Linked DNA regions of Homo sapiens: all the other regions are linked to region 1. The links are contacts of gene promoters, found by promoter capture Hi-C in human tissues and cell types (Jung and others, 2019). All regions are on one chromosome and are shown on one strand. Each heading gives the region's core, a stretch centred on a gene start or on the middle of the fragment in contact. The rest is flanking DNA. Distances are from core to core; before and after follow the strand shown. Region 1 holds the start of RNASEH2B (ribonuclease H2 subunit B). Region 2 overlaps DLEU1 (deleted in lymphocytic leukemia 1). Region 3 overlaps DLEU1 (deleted in lymphocytic leukemia 1). Region 4 overlaps DLEU1 (deleted in lymphocytic leukemia 1).

What was found. Contacts are between HindIII fragments. The study calls those that stand out against the background at their distance.
Region 2: a fragment that was not itself captured here is called in contact with the fragment with the promoter of RNASEH2B in region 1 in 2 of the 25 tissues and cell types used here (spleen and stomach).
Region 3: a contact is called between a fragment that was not itself captured here and the fragment with the promoter of RNASEH2B in region 1, in 1 of the 25 tissues and cell types used here (lymphoblastoid cells).
Region 4: a contact is called between a fragment that was not itself captured here and the fragment with the promoter of RNASEH2B in region 1, in 4 of the 25 tissues and cell types used here (heart right ventricle, mesenchymal stem cells, pancreas and 1 more).

Annotation. Positions count from the first base shown.
Region 1 is chr13:50,908,394-50,911,252 of GRCh38, forward strand. RNASEH2B (ribonuclease H2 subunit B) reads left to right here and starts at 1,398. Exons shown (of 11, transcript NM_024570.4): 1 at 1,398-1,747. The coding sequence starts at 1,684. RNASEH2B-AS1 (RNASEH2B antisense RNA 1) reads right to left here and starts at 2,319. Exons shown (of 3, transcript NR_046552.1): 1 at 2,090-2,319. RefSeq lists silencers at 1,213-1,642, 1,653-1,892, 2,103-2,152. The HindIII fragment of the contact is 12,674 bases long and covers 1-2,859 here.
Region 2 is chr13:50,307,165-50,310,023 of GRCh38, forward strand. All of the region lies in intron 2 of DLEU1 (deleted in lymphocytic leukemia 1), which reads left to right. Among named protein-coding and RNA genes, the nearest start is that of DLEU2, 180 kb to the left of the region's middle. The HindIII fragment of the contact is 5,964 bases long and covers 1-2,859 here.
Region 3 is chr13:50,349,845-50,352,703 of GRCh38, forward strand. All of the region lies in intron 2 of DLEU1 (deleted in lymphocytic leukemia 1), which reads left to right. Among named protein-coding and RNA genes, the nearest start is that of DLEU1-AS1, 180 kb to the right of the region's middle. The HindIII fragment of the contact is 4,953 bases long and covers 1-2,859 here.
Region 4 is chr13:50,392,561-50,395,419 of GRCh38, forward strand. All of the region lies in intron 3 of DLEU1 (deleted in lymphocytic leukemia 1), which reads left to right. Among named protein-coding and RNA genes, the nearest start is that of DLEU1-AS1, 130 kb to the right of the region's middle. The HindIII fragment of the contact is 4,618 bases long and covers 1-2,859 here.

The DNA.
Region 1 (2,859 bases), core at 148-2,647:
CTGTTAGTAAGACGATGGTGTGCCTGGGGATTTGTGCTATACACCACAGCATCTTCTACAGTCGTTTTGGGGGAGAGGGAAGATCAGAGCAGTACCAATCTGCTGCTCCTTGCCCCAAAACTGGCAAGAGGCGCCTTTCCTCAGCCAGAAAGGCCTCTTCTCCACCAGCTGTGTCCTGCAATCAACTGCAGCTGTATTGGTCTCACCCCATGGGAAACAGGTTTGAAGTTAAAAACCTTTTCAGAGGGCCGAGATAAATTTAGTGCTGCTAAATTTAACTATCTTCAAGATTAAACATGAAAAGCAAAGTGCATGAGTTATGTATATTATTCTTTCAATTGTGCAAAAATAAGACATTAACTTGTTTTTGCATGGAAAAATTCTGCAAGAATAGAGAAGAAATGTTAACAGTTACCCCTGGGATCTGGGATAAAAGAGATACATCATGCTTTTCTTTAAAAAAAAAAAAAATAGGTTTTTGTGGATTTTTTTGTTTTTGTTTTTTTTGACAGAGTCCAGCTCTGTAGCCCAGGCCAGAGTGCAGTGGTGGGATCTCGGTTCACTGCAACCTCCATCTCCTGGGTTCAAGTGATTCTTGTGCCTCAGCCTCCGTAGTAGCTGGGATTACAGATGTGCACCACCACACCCAGCTAATTTTTGTATTTTCAGTAGAGACGGAGTTTCACCTTGTTGGTCAGGCTGGTCTCCAGCTCCTGACCTCAGGCGATCCGCCCGCCTCGGCCTCCCAAAGTGCTGGGATTACAGGCCTGAGCCACTGCGCCTGGCCCGTGCTTTTCTCTAAAGTATGAAAGGAATATGTACTTTCTTCTTAAAAACCATGTACCAAACAACACTTTTCAATTAAAATGTTATTTTTAAAAGTTTAAATCCCCAAATTTCATGGCTCTAACTTTTTAAACATCACTTTTTAAATAAATGTCTAAGTTTTTAACTCAGTATACAGCGTTCTCCAAAACAACAAATTCATATTCTGAGCCCAAAACTGTGCACCTCTTTTAGTGATGAGGACGGAGTCCAAATTGAGGACATCCCTTGTAGCTCACAATGCACACATATTCTCACATCAATAGCAACACAGAATGCAACTGATGACCAATATATATTCACAAATAATTGAGGACCATGGCTAAGAGTTGCATTCGGATTCCGATGTGACTGCTATTGTCCTTAACACGGACTAGCTCCAGGTGAGTCCCCCGGCCCCGGGGGTGTGGCGGGCGTCACCCGTTGTCCGGGCACACACCCCGCAGACCCAATCCTAGCCCGCTGGCTAGACCATGGAGGGCCGCTGGGTGCAGCCACAGAGCGCGGGGCCCCGGCGACCCCGCCCCGCTCCGCGTCACTCGGCGCCCTGCGGCGCGCGATGAGCACCTACCACTAGCGGAGCCGCGAGGGAGAGGCCGCGGCCCCTTCCCGTTGCCTGCGGCCACCGGCCGGCATTCAGAGCCCCTCGCCTGGCGCTAAATTTAAAAACGTAACACGAGCAGCAGGCTGGTCTCGGAAACGAAACGAAATTCGGTCCCTGGGCCTCCTCCCGGGCGCTGCCGGTCCCTCAGCGCGCCGCGCCACCCGGAACAGACCCTTCTCCCGCCATTTTCGGCGGGGCTGGGAGACTGAGGCCCGCGGCGCTGAGCCTGCGGCGCCCCGGAAGAGGCGGGCGGCATGGCCGCTGGCGTGGACTGCGGGGACGGGGTTGGCGCCCGGCAGCACGTGTTCCTGGTTTCAGGTAAACACGCGCGCCCGGGCGGCGGGGTCGGCCCAAGAACTGGCGGAGCGGCCCGCGACCCCGGGCGCGCCGCCCCCCACCCCGGTGGCTCCCACTACCCGGCCCGGCGCGGGATGGGATTCTCTCTGGGACAGCTGGCCCCGCATTTTGGTCACACGTCATAGCAAGCCGCGGTTTTCAAACCCGGAAGCGCCGAAAAGGACCGAGCGTGTTTCCCGGGCCCTGATCCCCGGTGGCTCGGGTGGGAGGGTGGAAGCCGACTCAGCCTGAGGGGAGCCACGCGGGTTCGCGGTCACCGGTGCGCTGCGGGCCCCGGAGGTTTCTGCCCTTGGTGTCCCCTACCTGGCAGCTGGCCCTGCTTCTGTGATCCTACTGGGTTGGAACCAGGGATCCAGTAGGCTCGAAGTGGCCTCAGACGGTGCGCAGTTTTAAGAAAGCAAAGGGACAGGCCTGCAGTGGCGAGGCAGGAGGGAAGCGGGATGGGAGTCGCGGTTAGGCCAAGGGTAGTTCAAAGCGATTCAGCAGGATGATGACCACAGGAGTGCTGGAGCCGGGCCTTTCAGCCCCCGTGTGGATGATGACCGGCCATCCAGGACATGCGAGGGCTTGGGACAGTGGACAGCCAGTGCCACACAAGGAAGGACCGATTAAATGACACAGTTAAAGGAATTTGGCCTAGGGAGTGCAAGCCAGAAAGGTTTGGTCTTTTTATATATGTAACATTGGAAAAAAGGAACATCTCCTGTTCCCTGTATTAAGTTTTGACTTTAGCTCAGCAAATGCAGTGTTTGTGGCAGTAAATATACTCTGATAACAATATTCTTTCCCAGGAATTTAGAGTTTTATGATGGTTATTGAAAATGTTTACATGACAGGCTGTCAATAATATTTTTTGCCTCTAAAAATAAAACATACATAAAGTGTACGGATTTTAAGTATGCAACTCACTGAACTTTTCATACGTATACACCACCCTAGTAACCATCCCCCAGTTCAAGATGTAGACTGTTTCCAATAACGCCTCATGCCTGTTCCTAGATAGCCCCAGGAACCTCTATGCTGACCTCTGTCACCAGAGATTAGTTTTGCCTGTTTGAATAAGAGTGTACCCT
Region 2 (2,859 bases), core at 118-2,617, 600 kb before region 1:
CAATCCACTGTTGACGGGTATCTAGGTTGATTCCATGTCTTTGCTATTGTGAAGAGTGTTGCGATGAACATGCAATTGAGTGTATCTTTATGGTAGAATGATTTATTTTCTTTTGGATATAGATCCAGTAATGGGATCGCGGGGTTGAATGGTAAGGCTGTTTTAAGTTCTTTGAGAAATCTCCAAGCTGCTTTTCACAATGGTTGAACTAATTTACATTCCCACCAACAATATATAACCATTCCTTTTTCTCTGCAACCTCACCAGTATCTGTTGTTTTTTGAGTTTTTAATAATAGGTATTCTGACTGGTGTGAGATGATATCTCATTGTGGTTTTGATTTATGACCCTGGGTAGTCAAAGGTTTCTTAGGTAGAACACAAAATTCATTAATTGTAAAGAAAAAAATTGATTACTTAGACTTACCAGAATTAAAACATTAGTTCCTTGAAAGACACCATAAAGAGAACAGAAATGCAAGCCACACACTGGGAGAAAATATTCTTAGCTCATGTATTAAACAGAAGACTTGTATTCAGAATATACAAAGAACTCTTACAACTCCAAGAAAATGGTTAAAAGGTTTAAACAGATACTTCACAAAAAAATGGTATATAAACGGTGCAACAACGCACTTAAAGATGGTTCAACATCACCCCTTAGAATAGCAAAAATCAAAAAGACCCAATGCTGGCAAGGCAAAGCTGTGGAGCAACTGGAACTCCCACAATTTGCTGATGGGACTTTAAGATGGTGCAACCATTTTTGTTGTACCATTTGGAAAACAGCTTGGCAGTTTCTGAAAATGTTAAACATATGCCTATAGCATGACCCAGCCATTCCACTCCTGGGCATTTACCCAAAAGAAAGCATATGTTCCTACAAAACCTGTACATGAATGTTCACAGCAGCTTTATTTTTAACGGTTCCAAATTGAAAACAACTCAAAGGTCCATCAACAGGTGACTGTATAAATAAATAGTGATTTATACAATGGACTACTACTCATCAATACAAAGGAATGAACTATGGATGCATATAACAACATGGATGAATCTCAAAATCATTTTGGTGAATAAAAGAAGCCAGGCACAAAAGGATACATACTGTTTGATTCTATTCATATAAAATTCTGGAAAACACAATTTTATTCTAGATCCTTTATTCTTTGAATAGTTGAATTTTAATTCCTTTTATATTTTCCATGTAAAGTTTAAGCCCTTTAAAACATCCATGTGCAGAAGTTGAGAGAGGGAAGAAGTGTAGGCCAAAGATGTAGCATTGGAAGTCAAGAAGAAAATAGTCTTTATAATCTCAGGAGTGACATATTTAAATAAGGAAAGTGTAGCAAAAAGAAAGTTTAGGACTGAGTTCTGAGGAACACAAACAATTCAAGGTGGGTAAATGAGGTAAAGCCAGTACAGGAAGCTGAGGAGGAACAGCTAATGGGGTTGAAGGAAACCCAGGACAATGTATGATCAGAGAAACCAACAGAGAAACATGCTTCAAAAAGGAATGAAGGGTTAACTATGCCCAACTCCACCAAAAGCTGAGTAAGTTGAGGGTATAATTAGTGCCCAAGAACTATGGGAGTTTGAATTTGCAAACAGAAAAAAAAAATAAGTAGAGCTTTGCAACTATGCAAGTAGTTACTTGCTAGTATATAACAAATTTTGCTTAACTTATTCTTGAATTAACAGGTTTTTTATTTCAAGGAGTACAAAATTAGAAATAATTAAAATAAAAATAAAAAATAGGTTCAAAATACACAAAATCCTAGTTACTATAGACCGTTTCGATGTTTCACCGGGTACAGAGGTTATTAAATTACATTATTAACTTTTAACTCTTTGATAGTCACCATCTTTACTGCTCTTGAAATTTTAATTATAAACCATTATTTATCTTATTACTATAATTTTTACTGTCATAATCAAAGAATTTCTGAGATTTTCAACCAACCCATATGATGAAGGTATGAAACATCTTTTTATCACCAAGATGGGAAAACAATGGCAAACTCTTGCATCAATCAAGTTAAATGAATTGGTTATAGATGGTTCTTAGTGTTGGATTTTCACCTGAAGTATCTGCCATCAGCCTTTCATGGGAAATATTTTAATTTAATTTTGAAATTAAAACAGTGGTGTAGTTTCATTTTGATTTGTATAGAAAAGGGCTTAGATAGTAATGCAGTATAAACAACCCTGACAGAAATCTTGATTTATCGGTTCTTGGGGGATTCAGCAAAGGCTTTAGGGCATGAAAGGCATAAAGAAAACTTGGCAGGAACCAGAGCAGAGGAAGGCAAGATACTAGCCAGCTAGCATGGTGTTTTTTCCCTGTTCTCTGACAGAAGGAGGACAGCCATGTGAGGAAGATAATCATGGCAGCAAAAGTTGCTAAAGAAAGTTGCTTAAGCTAAAATCATCAAGGAATTTGAGGCAATGACAGTTCATCATCTAGAGAGATGGACTCTAACTGGATGAATATACAAAGCTCTGCTTTCTGAGAAGCAGGATACGTCTGCTGAGAGACAGCTGGGAGTGAACTAAGCTTCATTCTGCAATCTTTTTGCTGACATTTGCCATAATATTTTCAGTGATGTGTAAGAAATGCAATTCTGTAATTACATGGTCTCCTGGCTGTGGTCTCCATCCAAAGCATGATAGTGTCTGGACCCCCACCCTAAGAGTTTAACACCTCCTGAGTGTACAGGCTCATTTTGGCCCTAATGGAGAGAAAACCAGCAGTGCAGAAATTCCTCAGGTGCAGCACGGTCCATGATAGGAGCCCACTGAGTAATAAATGCCAGAGGAAGTTAGGGTGAAAGAGACAACCCTGCCAGTAATGGTTTTT
Region 3 (2,859 bases), core at 258-2,757, 560 kb before region 1:
TGTGTTCTAGGAATGAAAAGGGGAAAATGTAAAGAAAAAAGTGCAAGCCTACTGAGTTGATTCTCTCATTTTCATAAAAATTTTATAGTGACATATACATACAGAAAAGTTCACAAATCACAAGTATGTAGCTTGATTAATTTTTACAAAGTGAACATACCAATGTAACTGGCACCCAGGAGACACACTAGAACATTTCCAGCACTTCAGAATCCTTATTCCCTTGAAATACCTCTTATATACCCCAAAGAATGGCATAGATTAATTTTGCCTGATTTTGAACTTTATGGAGTCATATAGCAGATACTCTTTTGTGTCTGACTTCTTTTGTTTAACATAATGTTCGTGAGAATCACCCATATTATTTCATAGAATTGTAGAACATTTATTCTCACTGCTATATTCTAATGTATAAATATAAATTTTAAAAAATCCATTCCGGTATTGTTGGGCATTCAGGTAGCTTGCGGGTTTTAGTAATTATAAATTATGCTACAATGACTATTCTAGTACACATCTTTTGGTGAACATATGTTCACATTTCTGTGGATATATACCTATATGAAGAATCCCTGGATTGTAGATTGTGTTTATATTTAGCTATGCTCCTGCAAAACAATTTCTCAGAGTATTTTTTATCAATTTATCATTCCACTAGTAGTGTACAAAATTTCAGTTGTTCCATATCCTTGGCAACACTTGGTATTATCCATCCCTTCAATTTTGGCCATTCCAATGAGTATGTGATAGTATCATATAATGTTTTTAATTTTTATTTCCCTAATAACTAATGAATCACCTAAAGTTGAGGTACTTTTCATTTCATATGTTTATTGGTTATTTGGATATCCTCTTTCGTGAAGTGCTTTCTGTAATTTTTTTTGTACAGTTCTCATTGTATTGACTGTCTTTTTGATATTGTTTTATAAAGCTCTCTCTATCTTCTGAATATGAGTCTTGCATTAGCTTGCTAGGGGTGCCTTAACAAAACACCACAGACTAGATGGCTTAACCAACAGAAATTTATTTTCTCACAGTTCCGGAGTCTAGAAGTCCAAGATCAAGGTGTCAGAAGGGCTGGTTTCTCCTGAGGCCTCTCTCCTTGGCTTGCAGACTAGAAAATATAGTATTTTTAGATGGACCTATTGTCACTTTGCACAAAGCTGAGATTTTTTGAAAAGAGGAGAATGGACAGGCAACTAGCAAGGTCTGGCTCAGTCCCTAATTTTTCTAAAACTAGTAGGGATGAAGGAAGAAGAAAGGAAGTGGTACCTTCTTTTCTTATCAAATGAGCAGTGTTCCAGGGCTTGTGCTGTTACAGCTGGAACCACATTGGCGCAGCTCAGGGGAATCAATGGTTCTTGTTATTCCCTGGTCTGCTGAGATTGGGCTAAGCAGGAATAAAGGTCACAGCAGCTCTTCTAGTAAGCCTATGGGATGGCCATGATGGTTCCCATGGAAAGTGTATAGGCCAGAGAAGATTCTCCCCACCACCAATCTCATTTATGGTTTGATGGAGCTGAGAGTCCCAGAAAAGCATTCCATGACATTTCAGCCCAATGCATCCCCTGGTAAGAGAAAATTTTCATATCAGTTTTGGAACAAAAGATTGTAAAAATATTTCAGGAAATAAGCCCTAGTTCACATTGTCACATATAACTACATAAAGGGCATTGAATTATCTTACTTATATTTTTAATAAGATGATTTTTAGTATTGCTCATCAACTCTTCCCCTTCCCCTCAAACAGGCTTGAGACTGTTCACTAGTATATAGGGTAATCTGTGCCTTGAAAGAAAGAAGATGTGATATCTGTTTTCTACTACACTGATTTGAATCTGTTTTCTCCAAACTGCGACCCAATCTAGCAGAATGTAAGGAGCCTATATTGGCATACTAAGACCACTGCCCTCCCATTTTTATTGAAAAAGGCCAAGAATGAAAAAGCAAGCTGTCTTAGTCTGAGAGACAGACATCAGGGTGGGATTAAATGTGCAAGGATTTTGTTAGGGGAAATACCTGTCTGGGAGAAAATGGGTAGGGAGCAGAAAGAGCTGTTAGACTATGGAACAAGTCTATCTCACAAATGGAGAGAGGGAAGGAAGGTTAGGTGGAAGTGTCCTAGACCATTGTGCAGCCTAAGGAAGCTTCAGCAAGGTTGTTATGGAGTCTGTGAACCAAAGTTGGCTGTCAGAGGAGTCCCTTGTGTCCCAGGAACAGGCTTGCCCACCACATCCAGTCATTGGCTAGGAGCAGCCTGTGGCTGGGAGCAGCCAGTATGGACGTGGTACAAATGTGATGGTGGATCTCAGAGTGCAGCAGCTGAAGACCTTGGTCAATTACCTTCCCTGTAGCTGGATATTTGCAAGGCACATTCTAATGGCAGCTTAGTTTGCTTTTGCTAGAAATTAAAGAGGCCGGGCACGGTGCCTCACGCCTGTAATCCCAGCACTTTGGGAGGCTGAGGTAGGCAGATTACCTGAGGTCAGGAGTTTGAGACCAGCCTGGCCAACATGGTGAAACCCCATCTCTACTAAAAATACAAAAATTAGCCGGGCATGGTGGCACACACCTGTAATCCCAGCTACTCGGGAGGCTGAGGCAGGAAAATCGTTTGAGCTTGGGAGACAGAGGTTGCAGTGAGCTGAGATCATGCCACTGTACCCCAGCCTGGCCGACAGGGCAAGACTCTGTCTCAAAAAAAAAGAAAAAAAAAAAGAAATTAAAGAGAGCATTGGGATGCCTCTCACTTTTGTGAAATGTAAGAATCCCACTTGGTTGACACCAGTTGACATGAATGACTTTAGGAAGGGAGTGAAATATGGTGAGTCAGAAGAGAAGGGTTAAAGAAGGGATATT
Region 4 (2,859 bases), core at 192-2,691, 520 kb before region 1:
TCACAGTTGGTCAGCTAAGAGTTTCTTGTAGATTGCTATGCATTTAGCATTTTGCTGGGTTTTTTGTTATCAGTGCCCACTCTGAGTGGGTGGAGCCCCCTTTCCTGGTGGGTTATGGACTCCCTTATATCAGCAGATGAATAGAGGTTAAGAAGCATCACGAGTCAGCTTTATTTAGTTCTTATCTGGACATGGACAAGGTTACAGTCTACCCAGATATGCAGAGAGTATTCAGTGCTACATACTCAAGCTCCTTTCCTGGCTAAATTTCTGTTGGTTGCTCCCATTCCTATAACTGGAACATCACCTGTTAATTTCTTAATGTATGTGCACACAACAGATTCTTACTATGTATTCTCTGTCTAGCCAGGAGCATTACAACTGCTTCCACCACACCACCTCATTTGGCTATCTGAGTCTTCGGGTTAATTTCTGAGCAATTAGTGCTGTTGTGGTCATTGGGTTTTGTTTTGTTTTGTTTTGTTTTGTTTTTAGGCTCAATCTTATCAGATTGGATGCCTCTTGCTTTGAACCCACACTTTGTTGCCTCACCCTTATGACTCCTCTATTTCCCTCTTCATCCTTTTATTAAACAAAACTTATTAACTCTGTAATCAGACCAGCAGCATTGTGCAATAGGCACAAATGTTAGGTGCCTTACACATGCAATTTTGTGCCCAACTTTGGCAGCAGTTGTTTTTATTCTGTCTTCACAGATGAGGAAATGGAGGCCCAGTGAAGACACAGGAGAAGTATTAGTGACCTGCTACTTTTAGATATAATCTGTATAGAGAAATAATATGGATATAAAAGAAGTTGCTAAAAATAATCGTAATATCTGTATATTGTAAACCAGCAGTCCCCAATGTTTTTGGCACCGAGGACAGGTTTTGTGGAAGACAATTCTTCCACAGACCAGGGGCGGTCGGGGGATGGTTTCAGGATGATTCAAGCACATTATATTAATTTTGCAATTTATTTCTATTATTATTACATTGTAATATGTAATGAAATAATTTTACAACTCACCATAATGTAGAATCAGTGGAAGCCCTGAGCTTGTTTTCCTACAAGCTTATATGGGACTCCATATGGGGTTGATGGGAGACAGTGACAGATCATCAGGCAGGCATTAGATTCTAATAAGGAGCATGCAACCTAGATTCCTCCCATGTGCAGTTCACAATAGGGTTTGCGTTCTTGTGAGGCTCCAGTGCCGCCGCTGATCTGACAGGAGGCGGAGCTCAGGCAGTAATGTGAGCAGTGGGGAGCAGCTGTGAATATGATGAAGCTTCCCTTGCTCGCCCACTGCTCACCTCCTGCTGTGTGGCTTGGTTCCTAACAGGCCATGAACCAGTATTGGTCCACGTGGCCCAGGGGCTGGGGATCCCTGTTGTAAACTACTTAACATTGCTAAGAAAAACTAAAGAAGATATAAATAAATGGAACAATATTCTGAATTCTTGGAATGAAAGAATCAATATTGTTAGTTGTCTCCAAATTGATGTATAAATTCAAAGCATTCCCAGTGAAAATCCCAGAAGGCTTTTTTTTTCTTTTATCTTTTTTTTTTTTTTTGGTAGAAGTTGATAAGATGATTCTAAAATTTATATAGAAATGCAAAGGACTTAGAATAGCCAAGATAATTTTGAAAAACAACAAAGTTGGGGGACTCATACTACCTAATTTTGAGACATAAAACTATTGTAATCAAGGTAGTGTGGTAATGGTATCAAGATGGACAATATATAAGTAGATATAATGGAAACATACATCTCATGTATCTGGTGAATTGACTTTTATAAAGGTTTAAAGGCACTTCAACAGAGAAAGCATAGTCTTCTTAACAATTGATCATCCATTCATAAAAACAGGAAAAAAAAAAAGCAGAAAACTCCTTTGATTCAAACCTTGCAACATATCCAAATCCAAAAGAGATCATAGGCCTACTTTCAAGATCTAAAAATATAAAATTTCTAGAAGGAAACAGAAGAGAACATCTTTGTGACAAGGTATTAGGAAAAATGTTTATAAATCCCATACCAAAAGAATAAACCATAAAAGAAAAAAATATAAATTGGACTTCATTCAAATTAAGAACCTCTATTCTTTGCAAGAAACTTAAGAAAATGAAGAATATCCACCTATTGGAAGAAAATATTTTCAAATCACATATCTAATAAGACTTGCATACAGAATATATAAAGAATTCCCTTAACATAGTAATAAGAGAACAAATAAACCAGTAAAATAGGGCAAAATATTAGAACAGGTACTTTACCATAAAGGACATATGGATGGCAGATAAATGCATTAAAAATGTTCAATATCATTATTCCTTAGGGGCAGATTAAAACCACACTGAGATAGCACTACACATCTGTTAGAATAAAGACTGACCATAGCAAGTCGAGGGCAGGAAGCAACTGGAACTCTCATGTACTGCTGATGGATGTGTAAAATGGTACAATCATTCTAGAAAATAGCTAGTTTCTTTAAAAGCTAAACATATAGATAGCAAATAACCCAGTCATTTTACAGGTATTTACTGAAGAGCAATCAAAGTATGGGTCTATACAAGGACTGAACATGATTATTCATAGAAGCTTTATTTTAATAGTCAAAAACTAGAAACAACCCATATGTCCATCAGTGTCCATCAATAGATGAATGGATAAATAAACGGTGGTATAGCTATACAATGGGATACTTATCAATAAAATAAATGAACTATTAGCACATGCAACATGAGTGAAATTCAATGTAATTATACTGATAGAAGCAGATAAAAATGACATACTGTATGATTTTATTTATACACAAATCTAGAAAATTCAGATATTTATAGTGACAGAAAGC